Linked DNA regions of Homo sapiens: regions 2, 3, 4 and 5 are each linked to region 1. Evidence: promoter capture Hi-C in 16 types of primary human blood cells and fetal thymus (Javierre and others, 2016). All regions are on one chromosome and are shown on one strand. The core of a region is centred on a gene start or on the middle of the fragment in contact, and the rest is flanking DNA. Distances in the headings are between cores, read along the strand shown. Region 1 holds the start of KANK2 (KN motif and ankyrin repeat domains 2). Region 2 holds the start of CNN1 (calponin 1). Region 3 overlaps ELAVL3 (ELAV like RNA binding protein 3). Region 4 overlaps LOC124904638 (a long non-coding RNA gene). Region 5 holds the start of ELAVL3 (ELAV like RNA binding protein 3).

The links. Contacts are between HindIII fragments. The CHiCAGO score rates a contact against its expected background, and 5 or more counts as called.
Region 2: the fragment with the promoter of CNN1 here is called in contact with the fragment with the promoter of KANK2 in region 1 in 4 of 17 cell types (M0 macrophages, neutrophils, erythroblasts and 1 more); the score reaches 10.4 in M0 macrophages.
Region 3: a contact is called between a fragment that was not itself captured here and the fragment with the promoter of KANK2 in region 1, in 3 of 17 cell types (neutrophils, erythroblasts and M0 macrophages). The highest score is 7.1, in neutrophils.
Region 4: a fragment that was not itself captured here is called in contact with the fragment with the promoter of KANK2 in region 1 in 1 of 17 cell types (erythroblasts); the score reaches 5.4 in erythroblasts.
Region 5: a contact is called between the fragment with the promoter of ELAVL3 here and the fragment with the promoter of KANK2 in region 1, in 1 of 17 cell types (neutrophils). The highest score is 6.1, in neutrophils.

What each region holds. Positions count from the first base shown.
Region 1 is chr19:11,196,072-11,200,288 of GRCh38, reverse strand. It overlaps KANK2 (KN motif and ankyrin repeat domains 2), which reads left to right and starts at 2,744. Exons shown (of 13, transcript NM_001136191.3): 1 at 2,744-2,804. It overlaps DOCK6 (dedicator of cytokinesis 6), which reads left to right. Exons shown (of 48, transcript NM_020812.4): 48 at 750-994. The coding sequence ends at 792. RefSeq lists a silencer at 2,261-2,880. The HindIII fragment of the contact is 22,502 bases long and covers 1-4,217 here.
Region 2 is chr19:11,537,227-11,542,809 of GRCh38, reverse strand. CNN1 (calponin 1) reads right to left here and starts at 3,959. Exons shown (of 7, transcript NM_001299.6): 1 at 3,820-3,959; 2 at 1,613-1,734. The coding sequence starts at 3,882. RefSeq lists enhancers at 1,150-1,269, 4,043-4,988 and a silencer at 2,934-2,983. The HindIII fragment of the contact is 23,519 bases long and covers 1-5,583 here.
Region 3 is chr19:11,452,233-11,458,097 of GRCh38, reverse strand. It overlaps ELAVL3 (ELAV like RNA binding protein 3), which reads left to right. Exons shown (of 7, transcript NM_001420.4): 5 at 1-37; 6 at 950-988; 7 at 3,221-5,865. The coding sequence ends at 3,572. Among named protein-coding and RNA genes, the nearest start is that of PRKCSH, 20 kb to the right of the region's middle. RefSeq lists a silencer at 4,047-4,228 and enhancers at 5,092-5,862, 5,787-5,865. The HindIII fragment of the contact is 6,113 bases long and covers 86-5,865 here.
Region 4 is chr19:11,579,728-11,584,753 of GRCh38, reverse strand. LOC124904638 (a long non-coding RNA gene) reads right to left here. Exons shown (of 2, transcript XR_007067140.1): 2 at 1,090-1,337. Among named protein-coding and RNA genes, the nearest start is that of ACP5, 4.6 kb to the right of the region's middle. RefSeq lists enhancers at 660-719, 730-869, 2,771-2,970 and a silencer at 2,470-2,635. The HindIII fragment of the contact is 1,557 bases long and covers 2,834-4,390 here.
Region 5 is chr19:11,479,299-11,485,048 of GRCh38, reverse strand. ELAVL3 (ELAV like RNA binding protein 3) reads left to right here and starts at 4,003. Exons shown (of 7, transcript NM_001420.4): 1 at 4,003-4,449. The coding sequence starts at 4,441. ZNF653 (zinc finger protein 653) reads left to right here. Exons shown (of 9, transcript NM_138783.4): 8 at 908-1,007; 9 at 1,190-1,620. The coding sequence ends at 1,367. RefSeq lists silencers at 2,197-2,636, 2,667-2,916, 5,291-5,485. The HindIII fragment of the contact is 20,383 bases long and covers 1-5,750 here.

The DNA of each region.
Region 1 (4,217 bases), core at 1,495-3,994:
CATCCTAGAGACTAGAGAGGGGATGCAGAGGCAGACCAGGACAGGTACAGGATGGGGGCTGTTGTACACATACACAGCAACATGTTTGCTGGTAGCTTGGACTTTGTTTTGTTTCCGGTTTTTTTTTTGTTTTTTTTTTTGAGAGACTCTCCCTCTGTTGCCCAGGCTGGAGTGCAGTTGGCACAGTCTTGGCTCACTGCAACCTCCGCCTCCCAGATTCAAGCGAGTCTCCTGCCTCAGCCTCCTGAGTAACTGGGATTACAGGCATCTGCCACCACGCCTGGCTAATGTTTTGTATTTTTAGTAGAGACAGGGTTTCACCATGTTGGCCAGACTGGTCTCGAACTCCTGATCTCAGGTGATCCATCCGCTTTGCCCTCCTAAAGTGCTGGAATTACAGCATGAGCCACCACCACGCCTGGCTGCGGTGGCTTCAATTTTGCATAAGCATCTGAATATGTCATCCAGATGTACAAAGGCAGGGCAGGCTCTGAGCAGTCATTTCCCAGATACATGAATTCATCTTTCTGAGCCTCAGTTTCTACATCTGTAAAATGGGGATGATTCATACCTTCCGTGGTGGACTGCAAGAGAGAATCGGAGAATCCCACAGCCAGATCAGGGACAGGAGAGATCCCAGAAGGATCCTTGGAGGAAGACGAGGAGGAGGAGGAAGAGGATGTGGGCTGGGAGGTCTATGGAGTTGGGGGCCCCATGGCCATGCTGACCCACCCTCATTCTTTTTCCAGGAACTCCTTGAACAGAGCAAGTTTCCGAAAGGCAGACCTCTGAGCCCACAAGGACCAAAGCTGTACCTAGAGGAACCAGCACCCGGGCCTCAGCTGTCTGTGCTGCGAGGGGAGTCTGCCCTGGTGCCCACTGGGCTGTGGGGTGACCACACTGTACTTGGGGCTGGGCCCTCTGCCCCTGTGTCCCCATCTGTGTGCACTGATGCTTCCTCCCTTTTTTAATTTAAAATGGTTTTTATAAGCAACCTGTGCCATGTGGTGCGGTCACTAGGGGCTGGGTCACATGCTCATCACATGCTCACAGTCCACTGCCCCATATCCACACATCCCTGCATCATCAATGGGGACACCAAGAACATACTGGGTGCCAGGGACATCGTGGTGACAACAGGCAAAAATTCCTGCCCTTGTGGAGCTGATGTTCTAGTAGGGAAGGCAACACACAAATAATGTCACATGCTTACCTGCAATAACAATACCTGGTTTTTGTTTGTTTGTTTTTAACAGACGCTCTCACTCAGTCCCCCAGGCTGGAATGCAGTGTCACAGTCATAGCTCACTGCAGCCTCAAACTCCGGGGCTCAAGCCTCCTGAGTAGCAGAGATTATAGGCACATGCCACTGTGCCTGGCTTTTTTTTCTTTTTCTTTTTTTTTTTTTTAGACAGAGTTTCACTCTGTCACCCAGGCTGCAGTGCAGTGGTGCAATCTCGGCTCACGGCAACCTCCACCTCCCAGATTCAAGTTATTCTCATACCTCAGCCTCCCGAGTAGCTGGGATTACAGATGTGCACCACCATGCCAGGATAGTTTTTGTATTTTTAGTAGAGAAGGGGTTTCACCATGTTGGCCAGGCTGGTCTTGAACTCCTGACCTCAGATGATCCACCCACCTCGGACTCCCAAAGTGCTGGGATTACAGGCATGAGCCATTTCTCGGCCCCAGGTGGTTTTTTGTATTTTGTTTTTTGTAGAGATGGCGTCTTACCATATTGCCAAAGCTGGTCTCCAACTCCTTGGCTCAAATAATCCGCCCACCTTGGCCTCCCAAAGTGCTACGATTACAGGCATGAGCCACTGCGCCTGGCCTAATTTTTTTTCACTTAAAAATTTTTTTGCATAGACAGGGTCTTGCTATGTTGCCCAGGCTGGTCTCGAACTCCTGAGTTCAAGCAGTCCTCTTGCCTTGGCCTCCCTAAGCACTGAGATTACAGGTGTGAGCCACCTCGCCGGCTTAATAATATTTATTAAGCCCTTGCTGAGTGGCTGGCTGTGTACTAAAAGGGCTCCCAGAAAGATCTCTGCAAAAGTAGGCCACTCCATTTATGAGAGTTTTTAACCCGAAGGGCCTCCTTCCTGATGGTTAGGCCCCTTCCTAATGGTCAGTGAATCTTCTCAACGCTCCTATCAGGTAGCTAACATGATCATCTCCATTTTACAGATGAATAAACTGAGGCACAGAGCAGCAAAAGTTTGGTGGGTCTGGGATGGGAATGCAGGTCTGGCTGGCGCCGGCGCCCAGGACTCTGCAGCCTCCCTTCTCGCGCGGCGGTCACGCCACCGTGTGCCAGGACTGCGCTGGGCCGCTTCCAGCCCTGGGCCGCCTGGGGGAGGGGTGACCTCCCGCTGCCGCGCCCGCCCCGCGCGCCCTCCCCGAGCTGGGCCCCGGCCAGCTCCACCCCCTCCCGCCGCCGAGCCGTTCCGCCCCCCGCAGCGGCCCAGGGACAGCAGGCGGTGGGGGGGAGGCCGGCAGTGGGAGGACCCTGCCTCGGGGACTTAGGGAGGAAGGAAGGACGAGGCCGGACACCCCGGCGCGCACACACACCTGCTGTCCAGGTGAGATCCAGTCTCCAACCAGCGTCTCTCCATCCCCACCCCCCACCGCGGCCGGGGCGCCCGGGCGGCTGGAGGGGGCGGTGCCGGCTGGGGGGGCGGGACCAGCCGGAGGGGGCGTGGTGCGGGCGGAGCCACCTCCGAGGGCCGGGCGCCCAGGCTGCGGCGCGCGCGAAGACGCTCGGGCGGCGGGACCCAGGGAAGGCAGCGGCCGGAGCGCGCAAGGCGAGTGGGACCCGGGGCTGGGTAGGGGTTCAAGTCTGGTTCGGGGATCGAGTGTGCACCCCCTCCACACACACCTACTACCCTACCCCCCGCCTCCAACCCTGGGACACGACCTCGCTGGTCTCAACGAGCCGCTGCCTCCAACTCCACCTTCTGTGCCCAAACTTTCCAGACTTGGAGTGTCTGTCCCCGCGTCCCTGCCCCCTCCTCGTCTTTGACCCCATACCCCCATCGATTCCTCCCAGTACCCCCCATCGATTCCTCGTGCCCTGCCCGTTTCTCCTGTCTTGGCTCCCCTCTGCCCGCTCTCCCCTGTCTCTGTCCCACTTTCTGCCTCTGTTCCTCCCCGGCTCTGCCCTCTCCCCGCACTGTCCCCCCTCGCCCTCCTCCGCGGCCATGCCCCAGACGGCGGGAAGGCGGCCGGGCGTCCGGCCGGGCTGGGCCTGGGCTTGGCGGCTGGGCCGGCGTGGGGAGCGGCAGCTGTTTGCCATTAGCCCGGGATCCCACAGGCCCCGCCCCCTCTCTGCACGGGGCGGGGTCCTTCTCGCCTCCCCCCACCCCGAGTTTGGGGCGGGAAGACCCCCCCCCACCACCACCACCGACCTCCGCGATGTGCAGGCCGGTCTTGGGTGGTGGGTTGGGGAGACCCGCGCCCCTTCCCTGCGCTCCCTACCTGTCCCCTCTTATAGGCTCCAGTCTCTCCATCTCTGTCTTATCCTGTCACCCCTTCCCCATTCCCCAGGGGTCCCATGGCGAGAGAAGGGTCTCAGCCACAGACATCCATCTCCCCCACCACACCCCCTCGTCTCCTTTCTCTTCCCCTTACTCGGGACGTGCTGGTCCTCATCGAGGGCGGTGAGATGACTGAGTACCCTCAGACCTCAGTCTCCGTATCTGGGAAACGGGTAGAGATATCTGATGTGGAGTCTGAGGGTGGTGGCTTGGTGGGCAGTGGGGGGATCCACCAGGCTTAGGTTCATGTTCAGGCCCAGCCACTTCCCCATGGCCCCAGTGACCCCGAGGAAGCCACTGTACCTTTCTGTACCCTCTGCATCCCCTGTCTGTGAAACGGGGCGATAAGTGCCCATCTCATAGAATTGTCATGACAATTAAAAGAGTTGATGTTAGGCTGGGTGCAGTGGCTCATGCCTGTAATCCCAGCACTTTGGGAGGCCAAGGCGGGCGGATCACCTGAGGTCAGGAGTTCGAGACCAGCCTGACCAACATGGAGAAACACCATCTCTACTAAAAATACAGAATTAGCTAGGCGTGGTGGCAGGTGCCTGTAATCCCAGCTACTCAGGAGGCTGAGGCAGGAGAATCGCTTGAACCTGGGAGGCAGAGGTTGCCGTGAGCTGAGATCGCGCCATTGCACTCCAGCCTGGGCGACAAGAGCAAAACTCCGTCTCAGAA
Region 2 (5,583 bases), core at 2,710-5,209, 340 kb before region 1:
AAGGTCAGGGGTTCGAGACCAGCCTGACCAACATGGTGAAACCCCGTCTCTACTAAAAATACAAAAATTAGCTGGGCGTGGTGGCGGGCACCTGTAATCCCAGCTACTCAGGAGGCTGAGGCAGGAGAATTGCTTGAACCTGGGAGGCAGAGCTTGCAGTGAGCCAAGATCATGCCACTGCACTCCAGCCTGGGTCACAAAGCAAGATTCCATCTGAAAAAAAAAAAAAAGATTGCAGTGGAACTGGGGCTTGGGAGCTGTTAGGGTTTTCACCTCCCTCAGCAATGAGGTTTTGAGGCGAGGAGAAAACCAGGGCCGGCAGGGTGCAGTGGTTCATGCCTGTAATGCCAGCACTTTGTGAGACTAAGGCGGGTGGATCACTTGAGGTCAGGAGTTCGAGACCAGCCAGGCCAACATGGCAAAATCCCGTCTCTACTAAAAATACAAAAGTTATCCGGGCAAGGTGGTGGGCACCTGTAATCCCAGCTGCTCAGGAGGCTGAGACACAAGAATCACTTGAACCCGGAAAGCAGAGGTTGCAGTGAGCTGAGATCATGTCACTGCACTCCAGCCCGGGTGACAGAGGAAGACTCCATCTCAAAAAAAAGAAGAAGAAGAAGAAGGTCGGGCGAGGTGGCTCATGCCTGTAATCCCAGCAATTTGGGAGGCCGAGGCAGGTGGATCACTTGAGGTCAGGAGTTTGAGACCAGCCCGGTCAACATGGTGAAACACTGTCTCTACTAAAAAAAAAAAAAAAAAATACAAAAATTAGCCAGGCGTGGTGGCATGTGCCTGCAATCCCAGCACTTTGGGAGGCCAAGGCAGGTGGATCACTTGAAGTCAGGAGTTCAAGACCAGCCTAGTCAACATGGTGAAACTCCATCTCTACTGAAAAAAAAAAAAAAAAAACAAAAATTAACCGGGCATGGTGGCACGTGCCTGTAATCCCAGCACTTTGGGAGGCTGAGGTAGGTGGATCAATTGAGGTCAGGAGTTCGTAACCATCCTGGCCAACATGGTGAAACCCCATCTCTACTTTAAAAAAATACAAAAATTAGCCAGGCATGGTGGTGCGTGCCTGTAATCCCAGCTATTGGGGAGGCTGAGGCAGGAGAATCACTTAAACCCTGGAGGCGGAGGTTGCAGTGAGCCGAGATTGTGTCTCTGCACTGCAGCCTGGGCAACAGAACAAGACTGTATCTCAAAAAAACAAAAAGAAAACAGAAAGAAAACCAGGGCCTCCTTTAATTATTGCTGCACATCTCTCCTCACATCACCAAGCCAGCCATGAACAGCTGTTGGCTGCTGCCTTTTAGCTGTGACCGCTCTTTCTGGGGACTCTGGCGGCCACAGATGGGCCTACCCTATATAGCATGGTGGTTAAGATTCTAGAGTCATTTCCCTTGAAACCACGTGGGACTTGGTGCAATGCATTTCACCTGAGCCTCAGTTTTCTGTGCCTGTTAAATGGGCACAATGATTACTGGCCACCCCAAAGGTATCCAATAGAAAGTGTTCAACTCAGTTCCAGGATCATGGTTGTTTTGGGGGTTGAGGGGCTGCATGGAGTTGGGGGATGTTGCAGGGTCTCGGCTTCGAGAGCCTCACTCACTCGCAAAGAATGATGCCATCTTTGAGGCCGTCCATGAAGTTGTTGCCGATGCGACGGCCTGTCACCCCCTCGATCCACTCTCTCAGCTCCTGCTCCCGCTGGTGGTCATACTTCTGGGCCAGCTGGGGCGAGGGGAGGGCAGGGGGCACAGAGAAAGGGGTGAGGATGCATTGGGGGCAGCCTGGGCTCCCTGGGTCCTGTCTGAACTTCCTAGAGCCTGATCTCCCTCGTCCTTCCCAACTAAGGCAATTTTGCCCCAGATCCATAGTTGGGGGATGGGGGCTGGGGCGGGCTGAGAGCCAGGGCTGAGGTGGCACCTGCCCAGGGGGCCATTCCGGGCATTCTGAGGTTTGGCACCAGGGAATGTAGATGAGGGGTGGGGTGTGGGGAGCTGGATCCTCTGAGCTAGAGGGGTGGCACCCGGCACCCTGGTTTTTCGCCCAGGCCAAACTTGGGGCTTCTCTTCCTCTAGCCCTGCCCCCTCTGTGCCCCCTGTTGGAAGAGAGGGCACCTCAGGAAGGGAAGAAGGATGTCTAAGGAGGTGTCCCTGGGTGCTGGCTTGCAGAGGAGTGCTGGTCATACATCTCTGTCTCTCCGTGTCCCCCAGGTCTTCAGCTCCAGGGCTCTGTCTCTGGTTAGTGGTGGGGGCTTGTCTCTGTCTTAGCCCCCACCCCTTGCACGTCTGTATGTCTCTCTCCCTCTTATCCCCCCGACTCCTCTGTCTCTCTCTTCCCCAGCGCTGTCTTTTCTTGGCCCAGTCTTGGGTCCCCATCTCTCTAGGTGGCTAGTCCCTGTCTGGCCAGGGGTAGGGCTCCTGGGTCTTGTATATCTGCCTCTCTAGGTCTTTCTCTGTCTCCAGGTTTCCTGCCTGGGGTGGGGGTGGTGGGGCTCTGTCTCCTCTCCCTGCCCCTCCATCCTTGTCTAGGTCTTATCTCGCTCCTGGCTCGCCCTCCCCCGTCTGTCCCTAGGGTGTCTCAGGCTCCCAGTATCTCTGTCTGCCTCTCCCCCCACCTCCCTGCTTTTCCCTCTCTCCACTGTCCCCCCCCTCCCCCACTCCACTCCCATTTCTCCAGAACCCTCCGCCCAAGCCCAGCCAGGCTCCCAGCCCCTAGGGGACCGGGCTGCCTCTTCTTCTCCCGGGTGAGTGGGGGGAGGTGGGAGGGGCGGCCCCCTCACCTGGCCCTGGCCCTGCCGCCCCCCACGCCACCAGCCCGGCTTTATAAAGCAAACCGGCCCTTATATAGCGTGGCCCGGGCTCCCCGAGGCCGCCTTATAAGGCGCGGCGTCTCTGCGCGGCTCTGCGCGGCTCTGGGGCCGGCGCTGGGGGGGAGGAGGGCGGCGCTGGGATCTGTCTCTCGCCCGAGGACCCGCCCCCCACCAGCCCCCTCCTCCAGCCCCGAGATCCCTCGACCCAGGTTCCAACCCAGTCCCCCACTTCCTCACCATGGGACCCTGGGAAAAGCCACCCTGAGCCTCAGTGTTCCCCTCTGTCAAATGGGGCAGGAACTCCTCCCTCGGCAATACTGTTGGGGCGATTCCAGTGGGCTGGAAACTTAAAGTTCTCCAGCTGGGAGAAGCTGAGCCCATCCTGGTGTATGGGGGGTGAGTCCAGGGTCCGAGCGCTGTACCTGCTTTACCTGGGACCCCAGCTATTTGCCTCTCCTCTCCGAACCTCAGTTTACCCAACCATAGCATGAAGGTGGTGTCCAGGTATCTTCCTAGCTCCACAGTCAGGAGACCCCTGCCGCACTTCTGATGCCCGCTTCCTGCCTTTCACCGTCCCCCTCTGTCTTCAGGATCTCCCACACTTTCACGGCGTCACTTCCCAGGTACCCCAGCACTCAAGCGCTCCCCAATTTCTTTGTCAGGCCGGGGGATATGGAAAAATCAACAAGTCTTCCCCCTATGTTGTTCCCCCCAAGAACACGAAGGGTTAACAGAAGACTGATCAGGTGGGTATCTTTGCAATGGACTGACCCCCTCTGTTTATGTGTGGCTGTGTGCCCCCCCATTCCAGCCCCAACCATAGCTGGGGGCTCCGGGATGTTCAGGGGGAGACAGGCAGCCCCTATCCCATATCACTCCCTTTTCCCCTCTCAGTTTCCAAGTCACATAGGATAGGCAGGAGGGGGTTCAAGGGACCCCAAGCTCAGGGCTCTGGCCTGGCAGGACGTGTGGGCCAGGCCAGGGAGGCCCTCCAGCCCTACCTTGTTCTTAACCTCGGCTGACAGCCCGTAGGCAGGGCCTCGGTTGAAGTGAGCAGAGGACATGCTGGCCGGTGGGCTCTGGCGGGGGCAGTGGCGGCACTGACGCTGAGAACAGAGGCAGCGGCTGAAGTTCCGTCTGCACACTCTTCCCTCCTCACATGTTTTTGAAGCTCCGGAGGCGACCCGGGTCTCTTCCAGGGCCGTTCCATTGGCTGTAGGGGCCTGCCAAGGGGCGGGGCACCTCCCCCCACAACCTCAGCTGCCTTCCCCTCCCCTTGTGATGTCAGGCCCTTGGTATTGGGAGCTGATTGTGTCATTGTTTCCACCTAGGGGGGCAGCCTGCGTTATTCTGGGGGGGCTTGGTCAGACAGAGACCAGCCTTCTTCCACCCACCCCTCCCACTGTCCATTGGGCCTCTGGCTGGGTCTGAGTCTCTTTGTCTCTGAGGTCATCTCTCTTTATCTCTCTGGAGTCTTGAAGCAGGACTGACACCCAAGGTAGTTTAGTGAGCACCATCCCGGGTTTATCTCCAGATACCAACAGTCTATAGCCTTAGGTAAGCCCCTTCTCCTCTCTGGGCCTCTATGGCCACATCTGTAAAATGGGCTAACGATAGTGCCTGCCTCATGGGAGAGTTGTAAAGATCAGAAGAATATGCCTGTTACATGCCCAGCACAGTGCCCGGCACAGCAGAGGGACTCGGGCCATAGCAGTCTTTTTAAGGCAAGGTTTCACTCTGTCCCCTCGGCTGGAGTGCAGTGGCACAATCACAGCTCACTGCAGCCTTGACCTCCCAGGCTCAAGTGATCCTCCCATCTCAGCCCATCCAAGTAGTTAGAATTGCAGACTTGTGCCACCAACCTGGCTAATTTTATTTTATTTTTTTAGAGATGGGGTCTCGCTATGTTGCCCGGGGTCTCGCTATGTTGCCCAGGCTGGTCTCAAATTTCTGGGCTCAAGCAATCTGCCCGCCTTGGCCTCCCAAAACGCTGGGATTTACAGGCATGAGTCACCATGCCCAGCCTATAGCATTCTTTATGCTGAGGGTCCAGCACCCCAGTTCTGTCTCCTCCAGCCCCTCATAAGGACCTGGGGGAGAAGAGATCCTGGGTCTCACCCTCCCCATCCACTTGTGTGTCACCTGAACTACAGGGTGACTTTGTTGGCAAGTCCCAGGCCGTGAACTGTGTCCCTGTCAAACAGCCCTACCCAGCCAGATCTCACCCCTGGACCACAGGGGTGGATGCTATGCCCACATCATGCCCCACATGGCAAGGCCATGTTTGTGACACTTGGATGACATGTCTGCAACCTGCCACACACTAATGATATGTTGAGGATATGCAGTTTATCGGTCACATGCTAATGGCATGGCTGCAATATGCCACAGACTACAGCCCTTATGTCAGGCCATGTTCCAACTCTGTACATATATCCATTCAATTCTCATGACGCCCTCAGAGATGGACACTGTTATTATTATTATTATTATTATTATTATTATTATTTGGAGACAGAGTCTCTATTCCCCAGGCTGGAGTGCAGTGATGCTATCTCGGCTCACTGCAACCTCCACCTCCTGGGTTCAAGCGATTCTCCTGCCTCAGCCTCCCAAGTAGCTGGGATGACAGGTGTCTGCCACCACGACTGGCTATTTTTTGTATTTTTAGTAGAGACGGGGTTTTGCCATGTTAGCCAGGCTGGTCTCGAACTCCTGACCTCAGTTGATCTGCCCACCTCGGCCTTGCAAAGTGCTGGGATTAC
Region 3 (5,865 bases), core at 1,893-4,392, 260 kb before region 1:
ACGCAGGCCCCCTACACCATCAGACCCAGCGTTTCCGGTGAGCCCCCTGCCAGCCAGATGGCCCCAGGCCGGGTGCCCCCAAGCTTGCAACCCTCCCTGAACCCCATTCCTGCCGAAGGGAGGGATGCCGGGAGGGTGCGCACACATGGGAGCCAAGGAGCCTATCTGTCAGGTGCCAAGGCCAGCCACTCATATACAGCAGGCCCTCAATGTGTGCTGGCCGCGACGATTGGCATTCTTGGTGTTAAAAGATTTTGGCGTCATCTGGGTTCCAGCTCTGGTGGCCCCTTTCTCTTTTGGGCACGTGGCTGTAGCTCTGTGCCTCAGTTTCCCATCTGTAATAACACCAAATATTTCATGAGTCTTTGCTGTGTGCTAGACACCCTTATTTTTCTGCAACCCGATGAGAACAGAGCTTGTGTTGTCCCTGTTTTATGGACGGGGACCCTGAGGCACAGAGAGGTGTTGGGGTTTGCCTGGCCCAAACAGAGCAGAGACTCAAACCCAGGACCTGGAGTCCAAGCTCATAGCCACTCCAAGGGGAGACAATGGAAGCCCCTTGTGGGCCCCCGGGTGGCCGGGGCAAGTTACCCACCCCCTCAAGTGCTGCGAGAATGTTGGCTGTGGTAGTTACTGTCGCCTTTGTTAGGAGTTATCTTTCCCCAGGGATCCCAGCGCCTGGGCCCAGAGGGGACCCGCCAGCCAGGAGGGGGAGGATGGATGAGGAGGCCAGTGCAGGCTGGACAGCGGTGGGGCAGGCGAGAGGCGGTGCCTGAGTGACCACGGTTCCGTGCCAGGCAGTGTCTAGCCGGGCGGGCGGGGAGCAGGCAGGCGGGGGCAGGGCTCTGCTGCAGGCCTGTTGGGTGGGGGTGGGGAGGGCAGGCCGACGGTGTCACAGCAGGGGGGCGTGACTGGAAGCCACCTCTGACCACCACCTCTGCCTCCACAGGCTGGACAATTTGCTCAACATGGCCTACGGCGTCAAGAGGTAACAGTGACCCCGCCCCACTGTCCCCACCCCTCACCATCCATGCCCCTGATGCACCCCTCCCCAGCTCACCCCCAGGGCTGCAGGCTTAGCCTTGTTTGCCTGGGTCTTGGAGTAGCATGGCCATTGAGAGATGTGACATCAAAGCCAGACGTGGTGGTTCTCGCCTGTGCTCCCAGTGTTTCGGGAGGCTGAGGGGCAAGGAGCACTTGAGGCCAGGAGTTCAAGATCAGCCTGGGCAACATAGTGAGATCCTTCTCTACAATTTTTTTTTAAGGATTAGCCTGATACGGTGGTGCATGCCTGTAGTTCAGGCTACTCAGGAGGCTGAGGCGGGAGGATCGCTTGAGCCTAGGAGTTGGAGGCTGCAGTGAACTATGATGGTGCCACTGCACTCCAGCCTGGGTGACAGAGCGAGACCTTATCTCCAAAAATTAAAAAATGTGGCTGGGCGCGGTGTCTCATGCCTGTAATCCCAGCTACTCAGGAGGCTGAAGCAGGAGAATCGCTTGAACATGGAAGGAGGAGGTTGCAGTGAGCTGAAATCGTGCCACTGCACTCCAGCCTGGGCAACAAGAGCGAAACTCCATCTCAAAAAAAAAAAAATAATTAAAAAATGTAAAAGAAGATCTCAGTCTGAGTCTAGTGGGGGAGGAGACAGAGAAATGAATGGTGATGAAAGCTGTGAAGTAGAAGGGGTAACAGAGGCCGGGCGCGGTGGCTCACGCCTGTAATCCCAGCACTTTGGGAAGCCGAGGCAGGCGGATCACGAGGTCAGGAGTCCAAGACCAGCCTGGCCAAGATGGTGAAACCCCATCTCTACTAAAAATACAAAAATTTAGCTGGGCACGGTGGCAGGCGCCTGTAATCCCAGCTACTCGGGAGGCTGAGGCAGAGAACTGCTTGAACCCAGGAGGCGGAGGTTGCAGTGAGCTGAGATCGTGCCACTGCACTCCAGCCTGGGCGACAGAGTGAGATTCCGTCTCAAAAAGAAAAAAAAAAAAGAAGGGGTGACGGAGACCCAGCAGCAGAGACCCCCCAGTCCCATCTGAGGCAACATCCACACAAAGGCAGAGTGGAAAGGGAGTTCCTAGCAGTGGGAAAAGCCTGTGCAAAGAGGGCCAGAAGGAGCGAGTAGTTTGTTCCTCGTGGTCAGGATTGAATGGTTCAGGCCCTTGGGTCCTCCCTTCCCAGCTGAGGGGTTTAATCCAAGGGCGGGATTGCCAGTGAGGAATGTGAGTGGAGCCAATTCTGTCCTTTCATTAATTCATTCAACAGACACCTCCCAAGTGCTTACTAGGTGTTGTTCAGGGGCTGGAACAAACTCTTGCAGGGAAGATGAAGTTGATGATAATAAATATATGATTTGAAAAGGAAAGCCGGGTGCAGTGGCTCACACCTGTAATTTCAGCACTTTGGAACTCCAAGGTGGTAGGATTGCTTGAGCCCAGGAGTTCGAGACCAGCCTGGCTAACGCAGCGAGACCCCACCTCTACAAAAATTTTTAAAAATTAGCGGGGCATGGCTGGGTGCGGTGGCTCATGCCTGTAATCCCAGCACTTTGGGAGGTCGAAGCGGGCGGATCACCTGAGGTCGGGAGTTCGAGACCAGCCTGATCAACATGGAGAAACCCCATCTCTATTAAAAATACAAAATTAGCTGGGCGTGGTGGCAGGTGCTACTCGGGAGGCTGAGGCAGGACAATCGCTTGAACCTAGGAGGCAGAGGTTGCAGTGAGCTGAGATCATCCCACTGCACTCCAGCCTGGGCAACAGAGCAAGACCCCGTCTCAGAAAAAAAAAAAAAAAAATTAGTGGGGCATAGTGGTGCACCTGTAGTCCCAGCTACTTGGGAAGCCAAGGCAGGAGGATTGCTTGAGCCTGAGAGTTCGAGACCAGCCTAAGCAACATAGTGAGACTGTGTCACCACAAATCATAAAAAAAATTAGCTGGGTGTGAGGGCGCCTGCCTACAGTCCCAGCTGCTCAGGAGGCTGAGGCGGGAGGTTTGCTTGAGCCCAGGAGGTCAAAGCTGCAGTGAGCCATGATTGCACCACTGCACTCCAGCCTGGGTGACAGAGCGAGACCGTGTCTCTAAAAAAAAAAATTGCATTGCAGGGGTCACACCATTCCAAGGTCATGGCACAGTCAGGGGTCATAAAGGTGTGAAGGGTCACAACGGGGTCAGAAGCATGCGGGGGGTCAGGGCAGAGCCCGCGTGACCCCCAAAGTAGTCCCCTGTCGCTCATCGCCAGGTTCTCGCCGATCGCCATCGATGGTATGAGCGGCCTGGCGGGCGTGGGCCTGTCGGGGGGCGCGGCGGGCGCCGGCTGGTGCATCTTCGTGTACAACCTGTCACCGGAGGCAGACGAGAGCGTGCTGTGGCAGCTGTTCGGGCCTTTTGGGGCAGTCACCAACGTCAAGGTCATCCGTGATTTCACCACCAACAAGTGCAAGGGTTTCGGCTTCGTGACCATGACCAACTATGACGAGGCGGCCATGGCCATCGCCAGCCTGAACGGCTATCGCCTGGGCGAGCGCGTGCTGCAGGTCTCCTTCAAGACCAGCAAACAGCACAAGGCGTGAGCCCACCCCGCCTGCCCTCCCACCCCCTCCCCGGGCAGCAGAGAGAGAGAGAGAGAAAGAGAGAGAGAGAGAGAGAAGGGGCCCAAGAGAGACAGCACAGGCAGCCCCACGGACGACGCGAGGGCCCCACGTCCCTGCGGAAGCCACAGGGTGAGCACTCTGGGGTGGGAGGGTCTGCAGGGAATTGGGGGGGTGCCCGGGGATCCCCCGCCCCATCCTCCTGCCCCCACCCCAGGCTGGGCTGTTCACTCTCTCGTCTTGGTTTGGTTCATGGTGAAGGTTTTTGTTTCTTTTTTCGGCTAAAAAGAATGCAGAGATGTGCCCCCACCCCCACCCTCGACCACCCCCGATGGGATGGCTTGGGGGGCTCCAGGGGGTGCCCTCCCAGACCCCCTTGCCCAGGCCTCCCCAGCACCTAGGTGGGGCCTGGGGTAGGAGGAACAGGTTTAAAAATCCCCAAAAAAGCGAACCGTGAGGAGGGGTGTGGGCACCCCCGGCCCAGTGCCCCCTGGTGGAATGCGGGGGAGCAGGCAGTGGGGCTGGAAGCAGAAACAAAATGAAAAAAAAAGGGGGGTGGGAGGGGAAGAAAAACTCTATTTTTGTAAAAAGGGAAAAAGACCTCGTGGAGAATTTTTACTGGGGATTCTTGAACTTGAAAAAAAAAAACACAAAAAAAGACAAAAAAAAAAAAAGAAAATATTTTGGCAGGTTATGTTTACCAACTGGGGCGGGGGTGGGGGGGGCCCAGGGAGCAGGGCTTAGGGGCTAGCAGCCCACGGGGCCACACAGAGAAACAACCACGCAGACAGTCACACCACGGGGACACACGGACAGACGCAGACGGACACAGCGACATGCCCCAGACACGTTAAGGGACTGGTTGGCCAAACTCAGACACGTGGACAGGGATAGACAGAAAGAGACAGAAGCTGGGGCTACGTCCATGTGGACACAGACCACAGATGTGGGCACACGAATCCATCCACCTGTCCACGTGCACACGTGAATGTAGCGATAGATATTTGGACATCAAATTTGGACACCAGGTCACGGAGAAACACAAACACCACCCAGGAACACGCAGACATATGCCCATAGCATCCCACAGGCCCAGGCAGGAGGTCCCACCCCAGACCCTGCCCCAGACGCTCCCTCACCCTCTCGGCCCCCTCGCCCTGGCCCCCAGGTTCTCTGCAGAGATCTCTCCTGGACCCCCAGCGGTCTCCTTGGCGCCCACGAACACAGGCGTGCACACGCAGCGCACATGCATTGAGACACACGATACCTCGTTCCACCTTGGCGTCACGGTGGGCTGGAGGCAGCCCCCCCCCCCACAACACTTGAGGCCAAAGGACACCCCTGTCCCCGGGGCTCAGCCTCCCCCTGGGCCGAGGCCTTGGCCCACACAGCTGAGGGAGAGGCCCAGCCCTGAGCCTCCCCCACCAGGACTGGGCCTCCCCGGCAGCAAGACCCCGGCACTCCCCGCCAGGCCCAGGGTGGGGTGGATGGGCCCAAAGGCCCAGCCCCACACTCCTTTCCCGTCCACTTGTCACCTACCTATCCCCTTTCGGTTTGTTGGGTTTTTCGTCTTTCCAGATTGCAGTGGACACAGCCCCCGATCTCGAGCCCCGGCCCCCGGCTTCTGTCTGGACATTGCATCGCCCTAGTTTTCTTTCTTTAAAAAAAAAAAATTCCAACAGAAGCCACAGGCCGGAGCCCCTGGGAGCCCTCGCACCGCTCCCCACCCCACTCAGCGGCCCCATCGGAACTGAGAATTGCAAAACCCCCGACTTTAGCTATAGTTAAGTTGCCTTCCCCCGGTGTCCCCACGTTTGGTGTCTGGCTATGGCGCCCCCATCTGACTGTCCAGCTCTCTCTCCCCCACCCCTCCCGGTGTTGTTATTAAACGTCTGTGGAGCTTCTGCTGCAAGGAACAAAAAAGAAAAAAATCAAAAAAGCGACAAAAAAACACAAACAGAAGAGGAAAAAAAAGCAACAAAAAAAGAAAACACACAGAAGAGATTTAAAAAAAAAAAAGGAAAAAAAAAAAAGACATAAACTGGCACCAGTTAACTTTCTTGTACTTTTTTGCTGAATTTAGCTTCTTGTAGTTTTAACTTATTGCTATGTTAACTATTTATTCTCCTCGTTGCCCTGTAAGGACATCCGTGTATATTTCTGTTACTTCATCCGGTTTGCAAGTTAAAGGAACGACAATGTTCTCTTTGTTTCTTTAAGTTTTGCCGAGACATGGTTATGCCTAATTTATTTATAAAAGGGGAAGTGGAATCAT
Region 4 (5,026 bases), core at 2,363-4,862, 380 kb before region 1:
TGCTGGGATTACAGGTGTGAGCCACCACACCCGGCCTATTATTATTATTTGAGACAGTCTTGCTCTTGTCGCCCAGGCTGGAGTGCAGTGGCACGATCTTGGCTCACTGCAACCTCTGCTTCCCGGGTTCAAGCGATTCTCCTGCCTCAGCCTCCCGAGTAGCTGGGATTACAGGTGGCTGCCACCACGCCCAGCTAATTTTTTTTGTATTTTTAGTAGAGATGGGGTTTCACCTTGTTGGTCAGGCTGGTCTCAAACACCTGACCTCAGGTGATCCGCCCACCTCAGCCTCCCAAAGTGCTGGGATTACAGGCGTGAGCCACTGCTCCTGGCCCTGTCTTTTAATTTTTAAAGGGTAGGGGGCACCATGACCCATCTTTGCCCACCTAAACCACCTATTCAGCAGCCCATGCCCCGCAGCCCACAGCTGGGGGACATCATGCAAAATCTAAGTCAGATCTGTCCCTCTGATCAGAACCCTCTGTGGCTCCCACCTTACCCAGATAAAAGCCCCCTTCCCTGCAGCCCCCAAGAGCACACGCAACCTGCCCCACCCACACCCTTCTCTGTTCCTTGCCCTTGACCTTGCAGACTCAACCTTCCGGATTCACTTCCCCCTTGCTCACTCTGCTCCAGCCACAAAAGCCAATTTTTGGTTCCTCAAATCAAACTAACTCATGACAGCATTTTGAATTTTGAAGCCTTGGGGCCCCGAAAAAGTCCATCTTTTTTTTTTTTTTTTAAGATCGAGTCTCACTGTGTTGCCCAGGCTGGAGTGCGGTGGTGTGATCTCGACTCACTGCAACCTCTGCCTCCCTGGTTCAAGCAATTCTCCGGCCTCAGCCTCCCAAGTAGCTGGGATTACAGGTGCTCGCTGCCATGCCCAGCTAATTTTTTTGTATTTTAGTAGAGAAAGGGTTTCACCTTGTTGCCTAGGCTGATCTTGAACTCCTGAACTCAGGCAATCTGTCTGCCTCAGCCTCCCAAAGTGCTGGGATTACAGGCGTGAGCCACTGCGCCCGGCCCAAAAATCCATCTTTGTGGGTTCCTTTGTAAATGTGTAGTCAATTTAGAAATTTAGAAACACGGTTTCCCTTAAGCCTTTATTTAGTTACAATCACAACTAACATGTTACTTATACACCTGGCAAAGTGAAACATCAAAAAATTAATTCAGGGCCTGGCCTCAGGCCTGTAATCCCAGCACTTTGGGATGCCAAGGCAGACGGATCACTTGAGGTCAGGAGAATCGCTTGAACCTGGGAGACGGAGGTTGGGACGAGCTGAAGATCACACCACTGCGCTCCAGCTTGGGTGACAGAGTGAGTGAGACTCCATCTCAACAAAAAGAAAAAGAAATATCACTTTAAGAGGTCATTGGATGCATATTTGGGTCCGTTTATAAGTTTAGTGGATTGAAATTAACATTTTACATTTTATAAGTGTGATGCATTTTATTCTATACTCTTTTACTACTATAATAATAATTATTATTATTAATTTTTTTTTTGAGATGGAGTCTCGCTCTGTCACCCAAGCCGGATGGAGTGCAGTGGCGCGATCTTGGCTCACTGCAAGCTCCACCTCCCAGGTTCATGCCATTCTCCTGCCTCAGCCTCCCGAGTAGCTGGGACTACAGGCGCCCACCACCACGCCCAGCTAATTTTTTTGTATTTTTAGTAGAGACGGGGTTTCACCGTGTTAGCCATGTTGCTCTCGATCTCCTGACCTCGTGATCCGCCCGCCTCGGCCTCCCAAAGTGATGGGATTACAGGCGTGAGCCACTGCGCCCGGTCAATTATTATTATTTTTTAGAGACAGTGTATCAGCTCTGTCACCCAGACTGGAGTGCAGTGGTGCAATCATGGCTCACTGCAGCCTCGACCTCCTGAGCAATGCTCCCACCTCAGCCTCCTGAGTAGCTGGGCTACAGGTGCACACAACCACGCCCAGCTAATTTTATTTTTAAGAGATGAGGTCTCTACAAAAAGTGTTGGGATGACAGGTGTGAGCCACTGTGCCAGCTTATTCTTTAATCTTTTAATTTATTATTATTATTTTTTGAGACAGAGTCTTGCTCTACCACCCAGGCTAGAGTGCAATGGTGCGATCTCAGCTCACTGCAACCTCTGCCTCCCGGGTTCAAGCGATTCTCCTGCCTCAGCCTCCTGAGTAGCTGGGACTACAGGCACGTGCCACCACACCCAGGTAATTTTTTGTATTTATAGTAGAGATGGGGTTTCACCATGTTAGCCAGGATGGTCTCGATCTCCTGACCTCTTGATCCACCCGCCTCGGCCTCCCAAAGTGCTGGGATTACAGGCATGAGCCACTGCACCTGGCCTATTCTTTAATCTTTTTAAATGTCTCCACCAAGCAAACACCTTGAGAAGTCCTTATCAGTTATTAAAAATCTACAATGCAAACATACAAATAAAAGGAGAACAGTAAGTTCTCTTAAACATTCTGATACTACTTCTAAACTTAGCCAATAAACTGAGAATGAATGTTAATTTTTTAAATAAACAGGCCAGGGGCAGTGGTTCACACCTGTAATCCCAGCACTTTGAGGGGCTGAGTTGGGAGGATTGCTTGAACTCAGGAGTTCAAGAGCAGCCTGGACAAGGTGACAAATCCCTCTCTCTACAAAAAATACAAAAATTAGCTGGGTGTGGTGGTGTGTGCCTGTAGTCTCAATCCCCAGGAGGCCAAGGGGTGTGGGAGGATCCCCTGAGCCCAGAAGGTCGAGTCTGCAGTGAGCCGTGATCGCATCACTGGTCTCCAGCCTGGGTGACTCTGTTTTAGAAAAAGAAAAAAGAAAGAAAAAAAAAGCTTTCATTAACTGAAGACAGACTGAAAGCAAGAGAAACTGAAAGCAAGATAAATGAGTGGGTGGTTTTCTCAAGCACTGGTAAGTGCTGCAGAGAAAACTACAGCAACAGGAGAGTCAATGATGGGGGCAGGGTGGTGCATTTCAGATAATTTCAGATAAATTATCTTTTTCTTTTTTTTTTTTTTTTTTTGAGACAGAGTCTCACTCTGTCACCCAGGCTAGAGTACAGTGGCACGATCTTGGCTCACTGCAACCTCCGCCTCCCAGGTTCAAGCAATTCTCCTGCCTCGACCTCCTGAGTAGCTGGGACCACAGGTTTGTGCCACCACGCCCAGCTAATTTCTGTATTTTTAGTAGAGATGGGGTTTCACCATGTTGGCCAGGCTGGTCTCGAACTCCTGGCCTCAAGTGATCCACCCGGCTTGGCTTCCCAAAGTGCTGGGATTACAGGCGTGAGCCACCACGCCCAGACTCATTTCAGATAAATTAAAGGAACTTGAACACAATGGGTGACCTCAGTATCTGACTAAGGAAGACCCTTCCAGGCAGGGAGAACAGAAAGTGCCAAGACCCTGAGGCCAGAGTGTATCTGAGACAGTCAAGCAATGCGGAGGAGGTCAGAGGAGCAAGAAACAGGGAAAGCAGGATTGGCAGGAGGAAGGAAGGGAAGGGATTGGGTAGAGACAGCAGCGGAGAACAGGACCTGGATGTATTGGCAACAGGAGGAACTCACTCGTGGGGTTGTTGACATCTGAGATTGACACTGGTGTTGGGAAAATAGGAAAGGGTGGAGGTGGAGGGAGATTCTGAGTCACAGCCTGATCTAGCTCCACAGAAAATCAGCAGAAGAGAGTTCTCCTGGGTGAATGGAGAGAGAAGAGCTTATTCAGCACCCTGGAGGAGACCAGAGAGAGATAGCCAAGAACGCACAGGTTTTATTACATGCTCTGTGCAAGATCAGGTTTATTTTTTTCATTGTGCTCTCTCTCTCTCTCTCTCTCTCTCTCTGAGACAAGAGTCTAGCTGTGTTGCCCAGGCTGAAGGTCAGTGGTGCATTCGTAGCTTATTGCAGCCTCAAACTCCCAGGCTCAAGCGATCCTCCACCTCAGCTTCCTGAGTAGATGGAACCACAGGTGTGCACCACCATGCCTGGCTAATTTTTTTTTTTTTTTTTTTTTTTTTTGTAGCAATGTGGTCTCGCCACGATGCCCAGGCTGTTCCTGAACTCCCGGGCTCAAGCGATCCTCCCACATTGGCTGGGTTTACAGGCCTGAGCCACCATGCTTGGCCAGCTTTTTCAATTTAAAAAATATAGAAAGTGTTAATACAAATTAAAAAGTTATAAAATAGTGCCAATAGTATCCCATTTTTCCGAAGACAAACATAGGCAGAGAAAAATTAATGGATACTGTCTCTCTGGGCAGGGGTATTACTGGCTATTATAATCTTTTTCTTCGTGCATTCCAGAATTTACCAACTTTTCTACAAAGATCATGTAGCACAATAAGATAATAAACATAATTTTGTGTGATCTCAAAATACAGGAAGCATAGAAGCTTCCAAAACACGCCTGTACCCACCACGTGAAGAAACAGATGTTAACATTTGGTCATAATTGCTTCAGATTTCTTTCTTTTTTTTTTTTTCTGTTTTTTTTTTGGGGGGGACAGAGTCTTGCTCTGTCGCCCAGGCTGGAATGTAGTGGCATGATATTGGCTCAGTGCAACCTCCTCCTCCTGGGTTGGAGTGCAGTGGCATGATCTCAGTTCACTGCAACCTCTGCCTCCTGGGTTCAAGAGAGCACCTCCAGCTAATTTTTGTCTTTTTAGTAGAGACAAGGTTTTGCCATGTTGCCCAGGCTGGTCTGGAACACCTGACCTCAAGTGATCCGCTCACCTCGGCCTCCCAAAGTGCCAGGATTACAGGTGTGAGACACCACACCGGCTAAATAATAAGTTTTTAAAAAAACAGGAGACTGGCCAGGCATGGTGACTCACGCCTGTAATCGCAGAACTTTGGGAGGCTGAGGTGGGCAGATCACCTGAGATCGGGCATTGGAGACCAGCCTGGCCAACATGGAGAAACCCCGTCTCTACTAAAAATACAAAATTAGCCGGGCGTGGTGGTGCGTGCCTGTAATCACAGCTACTAGGGAGGCTGAGGCAGGAGAATCGCTTGTACCCGGGAGGCGGAG
Region 5 (5,750 bases), core at 2,754-5,253, 280 kb before region 1:
ATTTTTTGCAACAGAGTCTCACTCTGTTGCCCGGGCTGGAATCCGATCTTGGCTCACTGCAGCCTCTGCCTCCCGGGTTCAAGCAATTCTTCTGCCCCAGCCTCCCAAGTATCTGGGATTACAGGCGCTCACCACCATGCCAGCTAATTTTTTTTTTTTAGTAGGGACAGGGTTTCGCCATGTTAGCCAGGCTTGTCTCCAACTCCTGATCTCAGGCGATCTGCCCACCTTGGCCTCCCTAAGTGCTGGGATTATAGGTGTGAGCCACCGTGCTGGGCAGAAGTTTTTTTTGTTTTTGTTTTTGTTTTCATTTTGCGAAATCACCCAAAGTTCAAATATCAGGGACAAGGCCGGGCGTGGTGGTAATCCCAGCCCTTTGGGAGGCTGAGGTGGGCAGATCACCTGAGGTCAGGAGTTCGAGACCAGCCTGACCAACATAGAGAAACCCCGTCTCTACTAAAAATACAAAATTAGCTGGGCATGGTTGGTGGCACATGCCTGTAATCCCAGCTACTCAGGAGGCTGAGGCAGAAGAATCGCTTGAACCCGCGAGACCAAGGTTGTGGTTGCGGTAAGCCGAGATCGGGCCATTGCACTCCAGCCTGGGCAACAAGAGCGAAACTCCGTCGCAAAATATATATATACACACACACAAGACAAATTCAGACCCATGTTGGCTTGGTAGTGTGCACCCTATGCCTCTCAGGGACCCAAGTTCGATCTCAGTTCTGCTTGATGGCGTCTGTGGGCAAATGCACGGGAAGGACGTAGGGTTTGGTCGGCCTGCACCTGCAGTCCTGGGAGATCCAAGGAGACAGCCTGATGCTCCTTCTAGCATCAGAGTCTGCAGCACATCAGAGACACCCCATAGCCCACCGTCCTCAGCCTCGGTCCCCACCGCCCCCAGGTGTCCGTGAATTCACCTGCGAGACCTGCGGCAAGTCCTTCAAGAGGAAGAACCACCTGGAGGTACATCGGCGCACCCACACCGGCGAGACCCCCCTGCAGTGAGTGACAGGCCGCCCCGTGCCGCTAGAGGATTGGGTGGGAGGGGATCCCAGCAGGTCCCAGGGGCGGCTTCGCCCCAACGCAGTGTCTGGGCCCGGTTCCACCTGCGCTCGGCCTTGTAGGGCCCCGCCCCGCCCCGCCCACTCTGACCCCGCCCCGTCCCGCCACGGGCTCCCGGCAGGTGCGAGATCTGTGGCTACCAGTGCCGGCAGCGCGCGTCGCTCAACTGGCACATGAAGAAGCACACTGCGGAGGTGCAGTACAACTTCACGTGCGATCGCTGCGGGAAGCGCTTCGAGAAGCTGGACAGCGTCAAGTTCCACACGCTCAAAAGCCACCCGGATCACAAGCCCACCTGACCCACCTGACCACTGACCGCCCCTATTTATTCGTCCGCTCGGACACCACGCCCGGGCTTGCCGGGGCCTGGACAGCTGCGAGGGCCGCCCGGACCGCGGGCCGGAAGGAGGCGCCCCCGCCCCGCCCCAGAGCTGGGCCCCCTGGGCAGGTTCCCCACCCCGCCCCACCGCATCCTTCTCGGAGCTGGTGCCTGGGGCTGCATTGCTGGAACTGTGTCAAGAGAGCAGAGTGAGATTAAAGAGCGAGAAAGGAGATGCCCTTCCCCTAGGCCTGAATGATTTGGGGTGCCAGGCCCCTCTCTGTCTCCAGCCTACTTGATCCCTTCCTAAGCGAGGCAGGGAACGAGGGATGCCCCTGGGCCCAGCAGCCTCGCACAGCCCCTGCTCCCACAGGATGGGGTGAGGCTTGGGGGTCTGGGGTCTCTGGGCATCTCCCGGAACTCAGGACCCTAATTTCCACTTCCTCCTGTTTTATGGGGCACCCATCTCCCACCCTCAGTGAGCTCCGGGATGAGATGGGGAGGTGTTCAGTAAACCCCTAAAATGAGAAACATTTGCAGCTAGCGACAAGCGCCATGCAAAAGAGAGAGTGATGCGTTGTTTTCCGGGGATGCTGTTTAGGTCGGTGGTCAGGGAGGGCCTCTGAGGAGGTGGCATTTGCGCATAGACCAGAATGACAAAGATCTATCCCAGAAGAAAGCTGGGGGAGGAAATTCTCAGGCCAGAGGAACAACCAGTGCCAAAACCCCGAGGTAGAACTAGCTCGGCGTGTTCCTAAAACAGGAAGCCGCGGGGGGAAGGGGAGTTGGCGGCGGCTGCCCTGGCCCCATTTCCCGGAGGAGGATGCTGAGGCCGCCGCCTCCTGCGGGCCGCTAGAGAGAGGGGCGGGGAGCGAGGCGCGGCCGCTAGGTGGCGTGCGAGGCGCGTAGGCCCTGGTGGCCGCAGCCACGTGACCCTGGGGACCGCAGCCGCGAGCTCAGGCACGTGCCCGGGGGAGCCCTGTGGCGCCACGCGCAGATTGGCCCCGCCGGTTCCTCACCAGTTCGGGGGATGAGGCGGGGCCCCAGCTATGCCTCAGTTCCTGCTGCGGACCGGGGGGCTACCCCAGCCGGGGACAGAAGAATCGGCAAGGATGAGCGAGTCCGGCCGCTGGGGCCGCCCCCGCGAGCTCCCTCCCCCCGCGAGGCAGGTCCCCTCCACTCTCCCCGCACTGCCGGAGCCGGCAGGTTTCCATGGGAACCGCAGCGGGGTCCGCGCGCCCAGGAGCAGCCCCCCTCCTAGCTCAGTTTCCGATGACGGAAACCGGGAGGAACACGGGGTGGGGAACAGACCATCGCTTGGGGCCCCTAGCGCCCGCAGCCAGGTCGCCCCGGCGAGCCCAAGAGGGGCCACCCGGGGATCTGCACCGCCACCGCCCCTATTGCGCGGGCCACTGCGATTGGCCTGCCCTTTCCAGGCGTGGCAGCATCCCCTGGTGCGCGCACTCCCATTGGCTCGATCTCTAGGGCATCTTCCAGTAACTGGTTATCTCAAGGGCCGCCCCTGATTGGGCAAATTAGGCTCTCCTCGCTGGTGGCGCTCTCTGACAGTCTGGAGCCTAAAGGGCGTGCAGGAACGAGGATTGGGTGGGGACTGCCGCTCTCCAGTTAGGGGGTCTGGGCTACCTCGCCGGCAGCGCCCTCGACCGGACTGTCGGATTGCTGTCTGTGGTGCTGAAGCCTCACGCCCTGGCGACCCCGCCCCAGTGTGTGCTAGTTCCCGCGCCCCGACGTAAACATGCACCGGCGCCCGCGCACCAAAGGAGGCTGCGCCACCCCCAACGCCTTAGAGAGAGGCCAGGTTCCCCCTAGCAGAGAGCGAGCATGACTCCACAGTCAGGAGGACCAATCACGAGCCTAGAAAGCCAGGACATTTATGTGGCAGATCCACCCACCCCAGTTCTGTGGGGTCCAAGAAGGATCCGTGGTTTCCCAGAGCTGCATGGCTCCAGCGATGATTGTCCAGAACACTGAGCCCCAAACCTTTTCACCCCCTTCGGAGCAGTGCGGAGTTTCCTTGCACTGGGGAGTGCCAGTCCTTACCTTTTGAACCCTAGAAGGATCCAGCTCACTCAAAACCAACAGCGTCCCAGTCTCCTTCTGCAGAAGACTAGGGCCACAGTAGCCACCCTCCCCCGTGGTCTTGAGGTGGTCTACACTGGTGCCTCCAAATCTGGGGACCCAGGCCTCTGCCTACTAAAATATTGGTTCCTGATCCCCTGTCCAGTTCCCTCAGTGGACAACACCTCTGGAAGGTCGCATATTCAGGCCACTAATACCTCCTCGCTCTGTTGGCTCCTCCAGCTCTAGGAGCTGGACGGAGGAGGGGAGCCCGTCTCCTGGCCCGAAAGCCAGCCCAAGAAGGGGTGCCAGGGTAGGAAGCAAGGGCCTCGAGGGAAGGAGGGCCCAAATCTGGCAACCCGAGCACCTAGGATGCGCTTTTGGGGGATTCAGAGTCCCGACCAGTGCGCGCTCACTTCCACCTGCCGCGCCGTCGGGAGCCGCGAGGAGGCGGAGCTCGGTCGCCGCAGCCAATGAGCGACGCCGGCGCTGGCAGCTGCTGCTATAAAGGGCTGGGGGCGGCGGCGGCGCGGTCCAGAGCGCGGAGCGCGCAGCGCGGGCCGGAGGGAGGGAGGGAGGGTGGGCGAGGGGAGAGGACTTGAACACACGGGACCGGACAGGACCGACCGAGGGGCGGCGGCGAAAGGCAGAGCGCCGCGATCTCTGTCGGGAAGCGCAACCTCCCCGGGCCCCGCGGGGCCGCGCAGGGGGCGTCCTCAACCCCGCGCCCGCTCCCTCTTTCCATCCCCTGCCGCCCGCAGGCCACCCCGGGGCCCGGCCATCCGCGCGCGCATCCCCGGGTTCGGGCCCGTCCCTGGCCCTCGAGGGAGCCGCCGCCTTCATCGCCACATCTGCAGCGGCCGCACCAGAGGCCGCCCGGGCGGGACCCCAGCGTGAGCATCGGGCGCCCCCCTAGGAGTGCACCACCCCCGGAGCCCCCCTCAACACGGACCGCGCCCGCCGGGCACACAAGAATGGTCACTGTAGGTATTCCCCTGTCGCCGAAAGGGAATCGGGACGGGGAGGAGTTGGGCCCAGGCTCCGCGGAGATTGGGCGGGTGCGGCGGGGGGGGTAGGACCAGGCCTAGCTAGGCCCGGGTTGGGGGGGTAGGACCAAGCCTCGGGGCCTGAGAGTGGGCAGGGCCGCGCCCAGAGTGCTGAGGGCGCTTAGAGCTTGGTCTGAGAGGGCCTTAGGGAGACTGACTGCGATTCGGGAGGCGTCCGACGCCGCCCTGGAGGCGGGATTGCCCCCTCTCCAGCAGGCCTGATGGGGGAGGGGCCGCGGCGGCTAAGGATGCTTCCTCCATCCAGGCCCAGACCCCGCAGGCCGCCCAGGCAAACGCAGGGCCCGATCACTGGTGCTGGGCCAAGCCAAAGCGACAAAGCGTCCCCGAGAGCCCTGGGAAAGCGGGTGGCGTCGGATCGCGCGCCCCGGGCCTCGGCCGCACCCGGGAGGCGGGCGTCTCGTCCTCGAGCCCGTCGACCTTGCGGCAAGCGGGGAGGGGAGAGGAGGGGGCGCGCCCGGAGGCCCCGCGGGCCCGCCGCCGCTGCTGCCGCGTCCCTTTGTTTCTCGGCGCTTCTTCGCGGGCCGCAGCCTCGCGCGGGCGCCTCGGGCTGCGGGGAGGGGGAGGGGAGAGGAGGGCCCGCGGGTTGGGGGGGCACCTCTGGGCTCCCGGGTCTCCGCCCCCCGGGAGATGGGGTGGGAGGCCGAGACAGCCCCCTTAGGCCAGGTCCAGGCTCCCCACCTCGCCAAGGCTCTGGGCCGCGAGGTGACCTTGAGCGCGGCCCGCCCGCCTGCTCGCCCGCACCGCTAGCCCCGCGCTCGGTGCTTTCAGCAGCCACGGAGCTGGTCAGCTCCCGAGCGCGCAGCCCCTCCCGCCCTGCCACGCCCTGCCTGGCCACGCCCGGGCACGCCCATCTAGGCCCCGCCCCCAGGGCCCCGGGGGCCCGGCCTCGCCCGAGCCCTCGGATTCCCACTCGGCAGCCCGGGCGTATCCCGGGGGCGGGGCTGGCCAGTTATAGCCCCACCCCGGCTCCACCCCCGCCCCTGCCGCGCGACTCCGCTCCCCGCGCCGCCGCGCGTCCTTTGTCTGGTCCCGGCGCCTGGGCCTCCCTCTTCCACTCTTCCTATCTCTCCGTCTCTGCGTGTGTGTCTCTGTGCATTGTGTCTCTTTCCGGGCCCCTTTTTCGAGTCGTGGCTAGCACTGGGGGTGGGGGCATGATTGGCGCTCCCTCCATGCCTAAGCCTCTCCCCTCCTGGACCCTGGGACCCGCCCACCTGGCT